Linked DNA regions of Homo sapiens: region 1 is linked to region 2. The links are contacts of gene promoters, found by promoter capture Hi-C in human tissues and cell types (Jung and others, 2019). All regions are on one chromosome and are shown on one strand. The core of a region is centred on a gene start or on the middle of the fragment in contact, and the rest is flanking DNA. Distances in the headings are between cores, read along the strand shown. Region 1 holds the start of ZNF121 (zinc finger protein 121). Region 2 holds the start of OR7G1 (olfactory receptor family 7 subfamily G member 1).

Region 1 (4,694 bases), core at 1,318-3,817, 470 kb after region 2:
TTATGCTCAATTTACACTCAAATTGTTCACCATAAAATGTATTTACCTGAGGTGAAAGAAAACAAGCACAATGCTCAAAAAGTAAGTGTTCAGGCACAGTGGCTCACACCTGTAATCCCAGCATTTTGGGAGGCCGAAGCAGGTGAACTGCCTGAGCTCAGGATTTCGAGACCAGCCTGGCCAACATGGTGAAACCTTGTCTCTACTAAAATACAAAAAAAAATTAGCTGGGCATGGCGGCATGTGCCTGTGTCCCAGCTACTAGGTGTCAGGCCTCTGAGCCGAAGCCAAGCCATCAGACTCCCTGTGACCTGCACGTATACATCCAGATGGCCTGAAGCAACTGAAGAACAACAAGAAGAAGCGAAAATAGCTAGTTCCTGCCTTAACTGATGACATTCCACCATTGTGATTTGTTCCTGCCCCAACCTAACTGATCAATTGACCTTGTGACATTCCTTCTCCTGGACAATGAATCTCAGGAGCTCCCCACTGAGCACCTTGTGATCCCCGCCCCTGCCCGCAAGAGAACAACCTCCTTTAACTGTAATTTTCCACTATCTACCCAAATCCTATAAAACTGCCCGACCCCTATCTCCCTTTGCTGACTCCTTTTCTGAACTCAGTCTGCCTGCACCCAGGTGATTAAAAGCTTTATTGCTCATACAAAGCCTGTTTGGTGGTCTCTTCACATGGACGCACCTAATGCTAGGGAGGCAGGAGAATTACTTGAACCTGGGAGGCAGAGGTTGCAGTGAGCCGAGATCGCACCTCTGCACCCCGACCCGGGTAGCAGAGCGAGACTCTGTCTCAAAAAAAAAAAAAAAAAAACTACTAGACTGGGTGTGTTAGATGTTCAAGTTTTCCCTAGGATCAAATTTTTCAGAAAAAAATGTCAAAACTACACTTAGTCTAAACATGCTGTTAATAAATTCAATAGATACTACTTTATTACACTAATACTAGAATAATATTCTGATTATAAAGCCTCCATCCTGGCCAGGAGCGGAGGCTCACGCCTGTAATCCCAGCTCTTTGGGAGGCCGTCAGGCGGATTACAAGGTCAGGAGTTCGAGACCAGCCTGGCGAGCATGGTGAAACCCTGTCTCCACTAAAAATACAAAAAAAAAAAATTAGCTGGGCATGGTCCCCATGCCTGTTGTCCCTGCTACTCGGAGGCTGAGGCAGGAGAATCACTTGAACCCAGGAGGTGGAGGTTGCAGTGAGCTGAGATCGCGCCACTGCACTCCAGCCTGGGCGACAGAGCAAGACTCCGTCTGAAAAAAACAAACAAAAGCCTCCATCCTTTCTTCCTGTGGGCCCGTTTTGAAGCTCTGTGGGGGGGTACAGACCTAGGAACTTCAGATAAAGACAACAGCTGTGTATTATTGCCTTTCTTTCTTTTTTGAGACGGAGTTTCGCTCTCATCGCCCAGGCTGGAGTGCAGTGGCAGATCTCGGCTCACTGCAACCTCGGCCTCTCAGGTTCAAGCAATCCTCCTGCCTCAGCCTCCCAAGTAGCTAGGATTACAGGGGACTGCCACCAAGCCTGGCTTTTTTTTTTTTTTTTTTTTTTTTGTGTGTGTGAGACGGAGTCTCCCTCTTTTGCCCAGGCTGGAGTGCAGTGGCGCGATCTCGGCTCACTGCAAGCTCCGCCTCCCGGGTTCACGCCATTCTCCTGCCTCAGCCTCCCGAGTAGCTGGGACTACAGGCGCCCGCCATCGCGCCTGGCTAATTTTTTGTATTTTTAGTAGAGACAGGGTTTCACCATGTTGGCCAGGCTGGTCTCGAACTCCTGACCTCAGGTGATCTGCCCGCCTCGACCTCCCAAATGGCTGGGACTACAGGCGTGAGCCAGCGCGCCCAGCCTGCCTTTCTTTTGTAGAAAGGCTTGTAGCTGGTAACAACAAAAAACATTAAGTCCAAGAAAATAAAATAAGAAACTAAAGGCTCACAGTCTACACGTGTTCATATTTACATGCAGATATAGGCACACCCTAAACGACTATTTTTTTTCCATCAGAAAGTAATGTGTCAAAAATAAGAATAGGACATCAATGCCAGATTCTCAGACGAGACATTTTTAAGCAAAGAAATGGAAGTCAGAGCCCTCTTGAAACCAATTTTCTGCAGGTGTTCACCAGGAACATGCCGGAAACGCCAGGTTCCTGAGGCGCGGAAATGCGGGGCCGGAGCCAACCTGACTGGAACGGCAGAAATCCTTTTACTTTCAGAAAGAAAGAAACTCACAAAGGTTGCTTTCCAAGCTTTTGAAGAAGGGAGCACAGCGGATGAAACCACTCCAGAAAACGCGCGGAGTCGGGACAAACACACTTCCCGACCTGGCTCCTGACTGGGACCCACTGAGCCTGCGGCCTCTAGCCACTGGCCGCGCAAGGAGGACCGACAGCCCCTGGAGAAGAGAGTGAAACGAGGCGGATCGGAGAGGCTCCTGGGCGACAGCACCCAATCGTTCCTTTGCCGCCCCCCGCTATCTCCGGGATCCCCAAGCAGGCGGAACTCACCACAGCCAGGGTGGACTCCACCACGATAAAGGCGAAATGGCACTGACCATGCGGAGCCAGCGCCGGAAAAGATGGCGATTGTGCGCTGACGTCACTTCCGCTCCGAGCCTCGGGCCGGGCGGGGCTCCTGGGTTCGAGTTTCAGCCACATAGGACCCAGTCAAACACAGAAATTGTAGTTTCTTCCCGGGTGGGCGCGGACAGGCCCTTACTTGGGGGCGGTTTAGAGGTGGGACCCGGCTAGCCGGCGGTTCAGGTGGCCGGACCTGCTGGAAGGGCGGGCGTGGGGGATGGGACGCACCCCAGGGGATGCTCCTGCAGAGCTTTTCCCAGGTGGGCACAGTGGCTAAGGCCTGTAAGTCCAACACTTTGGGAGGCTAAGGCAGGTGGATAGCTTGAGTCCAAGAGTTCAAGACCAGCGTGGGCAAAATAGCAACATCCTTTATTAAAATATATATGTGTGTATACATATATATAAAGCTTGTTTGTATACATCTCATGTTCCTAGAGCCTTTCCATGATTCTTCCATATGGATAAAGCTGCCAGTGAATGGCATGGTCTATCTCTTCTATTCAGTCAGGCTTTCTGTAGGCCTTTATTTCTTCATTCTTTATTTTTTAGAACCTGCTGGTTCCATTGCGTTTTCTTTTTTCGTTTTTCTTTTTCATTTTTTATTTTTTTTTGAGACAGATCTCACTCTGTTGCCCAGGCTGGAGTGCAGTGGCATGACCTCGGCTCACTGTAACCTCTGCCCCCCGGGTTCAAGTGATTCTCCTGCCTCAACCTCCCGAGTAGCTGGGATTACAGATGTCTGCCTCCACGCCCAGCTAATTTTTGTACTTTTAGTAGAGAAGAGTTTCACCATGATGGCCAGACTGATCTCGAACTCCTGACCTCCAATGATCTGTCTCCCTCAGCTTCCCAAAGTGCTGGAATTATAGACATGAGCCACCGCACCCGGCCACGTTTTCAATATAATAATATTTTCTGTAAATCTTGATTTTTTTTTGTCTTCATCAAGTATGTATTTCTGGCTGGGTATGGTGGCTTATGCCTATAATCCCAGCAATTTGGGAGGCCAAGGGATCGTTTGAGGCCAGGAGTTTGAGACCAGCCTGGGCAATACAGCAAGACCCCGTCTCTGTTTAAAAAAAATTTTAAATATGTTTTTGTTTTTGTTTTGAGATGGAGTCTAGCTCTGTTGCCCAGGCTGGAGTGCAGTGGCACGATCTTGCTCACTGCAACCTCTGCCTCCCGGGTTCAAGCGATTCTTCTCTCTCAGCCTCCTGAGTAGCAGAGATTACAGGCAGGCGCCGCCATGCCCGGCTAATTTTTGTATTTTTAGTAAAGACAGGGTTTCACCATATTGGCCCAGTTGGTCTCGAACTCCTGACCTCATGATCCGCCTGCCTCACCTTTCCAAAGTGCTGGGATTACAGATGTGAGCCACCACGCCTGGCCAAAAACATGTATTTCTATTGTTATTTTTCTGATCTTCCCACATGGGCCAGGACCACATTTCCTACATTGTAAAATAGCACTGACACCAGACATTCTCCCCAGGTTTATTCAGAAATGTAACATAATCCCAGTAAAAATATTAAAAGTTTTTTCTGGAGTTAGGTACGTTGATACTAAAGTTTATGTGGAAGAATAAATATCTGATAATAACCAAGAAAACAAAAACAAAAGCAATGATGAGCAGCAGATGTTAAAACATACTATTAACAGTTTTCACACAAGGCAAATAATTAAATTATATTAAAATAAAAATAAATAAGACATACTATAAAGCCTCTATAATTAAAACTATGTGGTACTAGCACATGAAGCAGAAACAGACTAATAAAATATCTAAAAACAGACCCAAGAACATGTAGGAATTTGGTTCATAAATGTGGTATTTTGCCAGGCGCGGTGGCTCATACCTGTAATCCTAGCAATTTGGGAGGCTGAGGCGGGAGGATCACCTGAAGTCAGGAGTTCGAAACCAGCCTGTCCAACATGGTGAAACCCTGTCTCTAATAAAAATACAAAAATAAAATTAGCCAAGCATGGTGGTGGGCTTTCTGTAATCCCAGCTATTCGGGAGGCTGAGGCAGGAGAATCGCTGAAACCCAGAAGGCAGAGGTTGCAGTGAGCCGAGATCGCGCCACTGGACTCCAGCCTG
Region 2 (5,066 bases), core at 1,529-4,028:
GGGTGACAGAGCCAGGCTGTCTAAAAAAAAAAGAAAGCCAAAAGAAGAAGGAGTAAGTGAATTATTCTCTACATTCCCTACCTCTGATATATTTGCAAAGAAATGTAGCTCTCTTTATTATTTGAGTATATTATAATCAACATTTCTTTCACTAAAGCCGACTTCTTCACTGATCAAGATAGAATATCTCACCACTAGGCCGGGCACAGTGGCTCACACCTGTAATCCTAGCACTTTTGGGAGGCTGAGGTGGGCGGATCCAAAGGTCAGGAGTTTGAGACTAGCCTCGCTAATACGGCAAAACCCCATCTCTACTAAAAATACAAAGATTAGCCAGGTGTGGTGGCAGCTGTCTGTAGTCCCAGCTACTGAGGAGGCTGAGGCAGGAGAATAGCTTGAATCTGGGAGGTGGAGTTTGCAGTGAGCTAAGATTGCACCGCTGCACTCCAGCCTGGGTGACAAGAGCGAGACTCTGTCTCTCAAAAAAAAAAAAAAAAAAAGAAAGAAAGAAAGAAAGAAAATCTCACCACTGAAATAATCTAATGATAGCAATTTTATTGATGATAAAACTGAGGGTAGTAAGTAGACGTTGATGTTGACCTGCACAGACAGTTTAGCAGTGACCGGGCTCTAAAATTACAGAATTCTGGTATCAACAATCAGCTCCCATTTTGCACAATAGGTTTCACTCTGGCATGCATTTCATATGGCCCTAAATATTCAATCAGGCAGTATCAATTCTGTGTTGCGAACACAGCCTTCTTTGGATTCTTGCCCTGACCTGTGAGACGCCTCCTGCTTTTCTTCCTCTGAGAATATTTACCAACCAAATCACTGTAACACTTGCCACAGGTTAACTTTTTAAACACCGCATGCAAAGAAACTGAGCTTTGAGAATAGAATTCATTTTTGACACATGACAGAGCTCCAAAAGAGGCAAGATTTCAACAACAACAACAAAAAACACACACACACATCCATGATGCAGACTAGTCACTTTAAGAAAATCTTGAAAGGTCGGGCGCGGTGACTCACGCCTGTAATCCCAGCACTTTGGGAGGCCAAGGTGGGCAGATCACTAGGTCAGGAGATTGAGACCATCCTGGCCAACACGGTGAAACCCCATCTCTACTAAAAAAATACAAAAAATTAGCCTGGCATGGTGGCGGGCGCCTGTAGTCCCAGCTACTCAGGAGGCTGAGGCAGGGGAATGGCGTGAACCCAGGAGGCGGAGGTTGCAGTGAGCGGAGATCGTGCCACTGCACTCCAGCCTGGGTGACAGAGCGAGACTCTGTCACAAAAAAAAAAAAAAAGAAAGAAAGAAAAAGAAAATCTTCATGATGCAAGAGTCAGGCACTCTGGCTTACCAAGGAATCCTGTCATGTTGATTCCTTTTAGAAGCTTCAGTTCAAAGCAGAGCACAAAGATCACAAAAAAGAAAGTAGGTCAGGCATAGTGGCTCATGCCTGTAATCCCAGCACTTTGGGAGGCCGAGGTGGGTGGATTACCTGAAGTCAGGAGTTCGAGACCACCCTGGCCAACCTGGTGAAACCCCATCTCTACTAAAAATACAAAAAAAATCCAGGTGTGGTGGTGTGTGCCTGTAATCCCAGCTACTCGGGAGGCCGAGGCAGGAGAATTGCATGAACCCGGGAGGCGGAGTTTGCAGTGAGCCGAGATCGTGCCACTGTACTCCAGCCTGGGCGACAGAGCGAGATTCTGCCTCGAAAAAAAAAAAAAAAAGTAAATCTCGATGCAAGAGTCAGGCACTCTGGCTTACCAAGGAATCCTGTTATGATGATTTATTTTAGAAGCTCCAATTCAAAGCAGAGGACAAAGATCGCTAAAAAGGAAACAGCCTACCAATAAGTTTCCTCAAAGCTTTCTTCATCTCCTTATTTCTCAGGCTGTAGATGAAGGGGTTCATCATTTGAGGGACCACAGTGTACATCACTGAAGCCACAGCAGTAATTCGGGAAGACTCAGCAACAGCAGAACTAATGTACACCCCAAAAGCTGTCCCATAGAACAAGGAAAAAACAGAGAGGTGACAGCCACAGGTGGAAAACGCTTTATACTTTCCTCTTGCTGATGGCATTCTCAGAACAGAGGTGACTATTTGAGAATAAGAGAAAATTATTCCAGAGAGAGGAATTGCACCAAATACACTACTTGCAAAATATATGAGGATGTTGTTGATGAGGGTGTCAGAACAGGCGAGCTTGATGACCTGAACGACTTCACAGAAGAACAAAGGGATTTCAACGTTTTTGCAGAAGGACAGCTGCAATACCATCAGACTCTGAACCAGGGCATCCATAGTGCTCATGAACATGGAGAGAAGAATCAGCAAGCCCCAGAAATGGACATTCATGAGGACTGTGTACCTCAGTGGGTGGCAAATGGCCACATAGCGGTCGTAGGCCATGACTGCAAGAAAGCAACTTTCCAAGCCAGCAAAAACCAAGACAAGACAGATCTGGGTGAGGCAGCCTGTGTAAGTGATACTCTGATTCTGAGCTTGGATGTTCACTAGGATCTTTGGGACTGTGGTTGTGGTTAAACAGATGTCAGTAAAGGAGAGATTAAAGAGAAGGAAGTACATGGGGGTGTGGAGGTGGGAGTCAGAGATGACAGCCAGGAGAATGAGCAGGTTCCCCAGGATGGTGACCAGGTACATGGACAGGAACAGGCTGAAAGGGATTAACTTCAGTTCTGGGTCCTCTGTCACTTTCATGAGAAGAAATTCTGAAACAGCTGTTTGGTTTCTGGGTCCCATGTTTTTGATGATCAAAAAATGGGATAATTAGACAATCAAATGTGTTTTCTAGACTGCGGGAGCAACGTCAACAGAGGCAAACACCATCTTGAAAAGGGGTAGATTCTAAGGGAAGAAAATAAATAAGTGTTGCCTTTTGTATTGATATTACTTTACTGCTTTTACAAAACTTGAAGCTAATACAGCACAGCATCAATAATTGTTAATTCTGGAAATGGTTAAGGGGTCATCATTTTTTATTTTTATTTATTTATTTTTTAAATTTATTTATTTATTTTTGAGACAGAGTCTTGCTCTGTGGCCAGGCTGGAGTGCAGTGGCTTGATCCTGGCTCACTGCAACCTCTGCCTCCTGGTTTCAAGCAATTCTCCTGCCTGAGCCTCCCAAGTAGCTGGGATTAAAGATGCTTGCCACAACACCTGGCTAATTTTTGTATTTTTAGTAGAGACGGGGTTTTGCCATGTTGGCCAGGCTGCTCTCAAATGCCTGGCCTCAAGTGATCTGCCCAACTTGGCTTCCCAAAATGCTGGGTTTACAGGCGTGAGCCACCACGCCCAGCCTCATCTTTTTTTTTTTGAGATGGAGTTTCGCTCTTGTTGCCCAGGCTGGAGTGCAGTGGCACAAACTTGGTTCACTGCAACCTCCGCCTCCCAGGTTCAAGCGATTCTCCTTCCTCAGCCTCCTGAGTAGCTGGGATTACAGGCATGTGCCACCACTCTGCTGTTCTGATTATTAAAAATATTTGGTAATGAAAAAACAAAAAATAAATAAAATAAAACAAAGTACATACCAGGAAAACGGCTGGAAGACTCTGTCTGGACCCCCAGAGACTTCACGCCAGCCAACAGAAATAATACAAAGCTGTGTCAAGAACCAGGAAAGGAGAATCGCTTGAACCCAGGGGGCGGAGGTTGCAGTGAGCTGAGATCATGCCATTATACTCCAGCCTGGGCAACGGAGCAAAACTCCATTAAAAAAAAAAAAAACACCACAGGAAAGTGAAGATAAGGTGAAGTTTAGCAAGCTGCTCACCTCCTCTCCCCCACAAGACTGCAAGTAAATTACAGAGAATTTTATAACAGTCATCCTGTTTTCAAAGAAAATGGTAACTACAGAATTCAGGATAGTGTATTTGTTGCTGGAAGAAAACAAGGTGATTTGAGTAGAAAATCCTACAGGTAGGTTCTATGGTGATGACATTAACTTATTTTTAATGCCAGATAGGTATATGCGGTTTTATCATGTTACTATTCTCTCAGAATTACAGATAGATTTTTTTTTTTTTCCTGAGACAGTGTCTCGTTCTGTCGCCCAGGTTGGAGTGCAGTGGCACGATCTCGGCTCACAGCAAGCTCCGCCTCCCAGGTTCACGCCATTCTCCTGCCTCAGCCTCCTGAGTAGCTGGGACTACAGACGCCCGCCACCACGGCCGGCTAATTTTTTGTATTTTTAGTAGAGACGGGTATCACTGCGTTAGCCAGGATGGTCTCCATATCCTGACCTTGTGATCTGCCCACCTCCGCCTCCCAAAGTGCTGGGATTACAGGCGTGAGCCACTGTGCTCTACACTACCTACAGATAGATAGATTTTATGCATTACTTTGTATATGATAATGTAACAAGTATGATTAAAGAAAGACCCTTCATATTCTAACCCTAAATATGTTTTCTCATGTTCTCCTAATATTAAAGTTAGGAGTGTCAGGCTTCAGAGGTTATCAGCATCTCTCCAAGTGCTTATTAAAAATTCTCATACCTCACACATTTCTCAGAGATTTAACACCAGTAGTTCTCGGGCAAGGCCAAGAACCTTCTCTATGAGGAAAGGTCTCGGGTGGTTCCTCTCTGTGTCTGTTCTGTGGACACCAACAGAGGAATCTCAGTCCTAGGAGACTCTATGAGTGCTAGAATAGGAGCTGCGTTCCAGATATGTAAGAGCTTTTTGTTTTGTTTTGGGGGTTTTTTAGAGACAGGATCTTGCCATGTTGCCCAGGCTGGTCTCAAACTCCTGGCCTCAAGCAATCCTCACGCTTCAGCCTCCCAAGTAGCTGGGACTACAGCCACGAGCCACCATGCCTGGCTTCCCAGATATTTTGGTGAAAATAAAGCCAGCTCCTCAAGCTCCAAAGACAGCTGCAACAGAAGACTCTCCACCCACTCCTTTGATTCTCTTTTGACACCTCCATTGTTTGCTCCTCACACTTAGAGAGATAATTCTGACTGATGATCCTGCGTGTGTGTGTGTGTGTGTGTGTGTGTGTGCTTATAGAAAAAAATTATGCCCCAA

Evidence for each region. Contacts are between HindIII fragments. The study calls those that stand out against the background at their distance.
Region 1: a contact is called between the fragment with the promoter of ZNF121 here and the fragment with the promoter of OR7G1 in region 2, in 2 of the 25 tissues and cell types used here (adrenal gland and aorta).

The regions. Positions count from the first base shown.
Region 1 is chr19:9,581,937-9,586,630 of GRCh38, forward strand. ZNF121 (zinc finger protein 121) reads right to left here and starts at 2,568. Exons shown (of 4, transcript NM_001008727.5): 1 at 2,525-2,568. RefSeq lists enhancers at 1-519, 520-1,332, 2,147-2,958. The HindIII fragment of the contact is 2,529 bases long and covers 1,460-3,988 here.
Region 2 is chr19:9,112,985-9,118,050 of GRCh38, forward strand. OR7G1 (olfactory receptor family 7 subfamily G member 1) reads right to left here and starts at 2,779. Exons shown (of 1, transcript NM_001005192.2): 1 at 1,844-2,779. The coding sequence starts at 2,779. The coding sequence ends at 1,844. The HindIII fragment of the contact is 5,916 bases long and covers 1,642-5,066 here.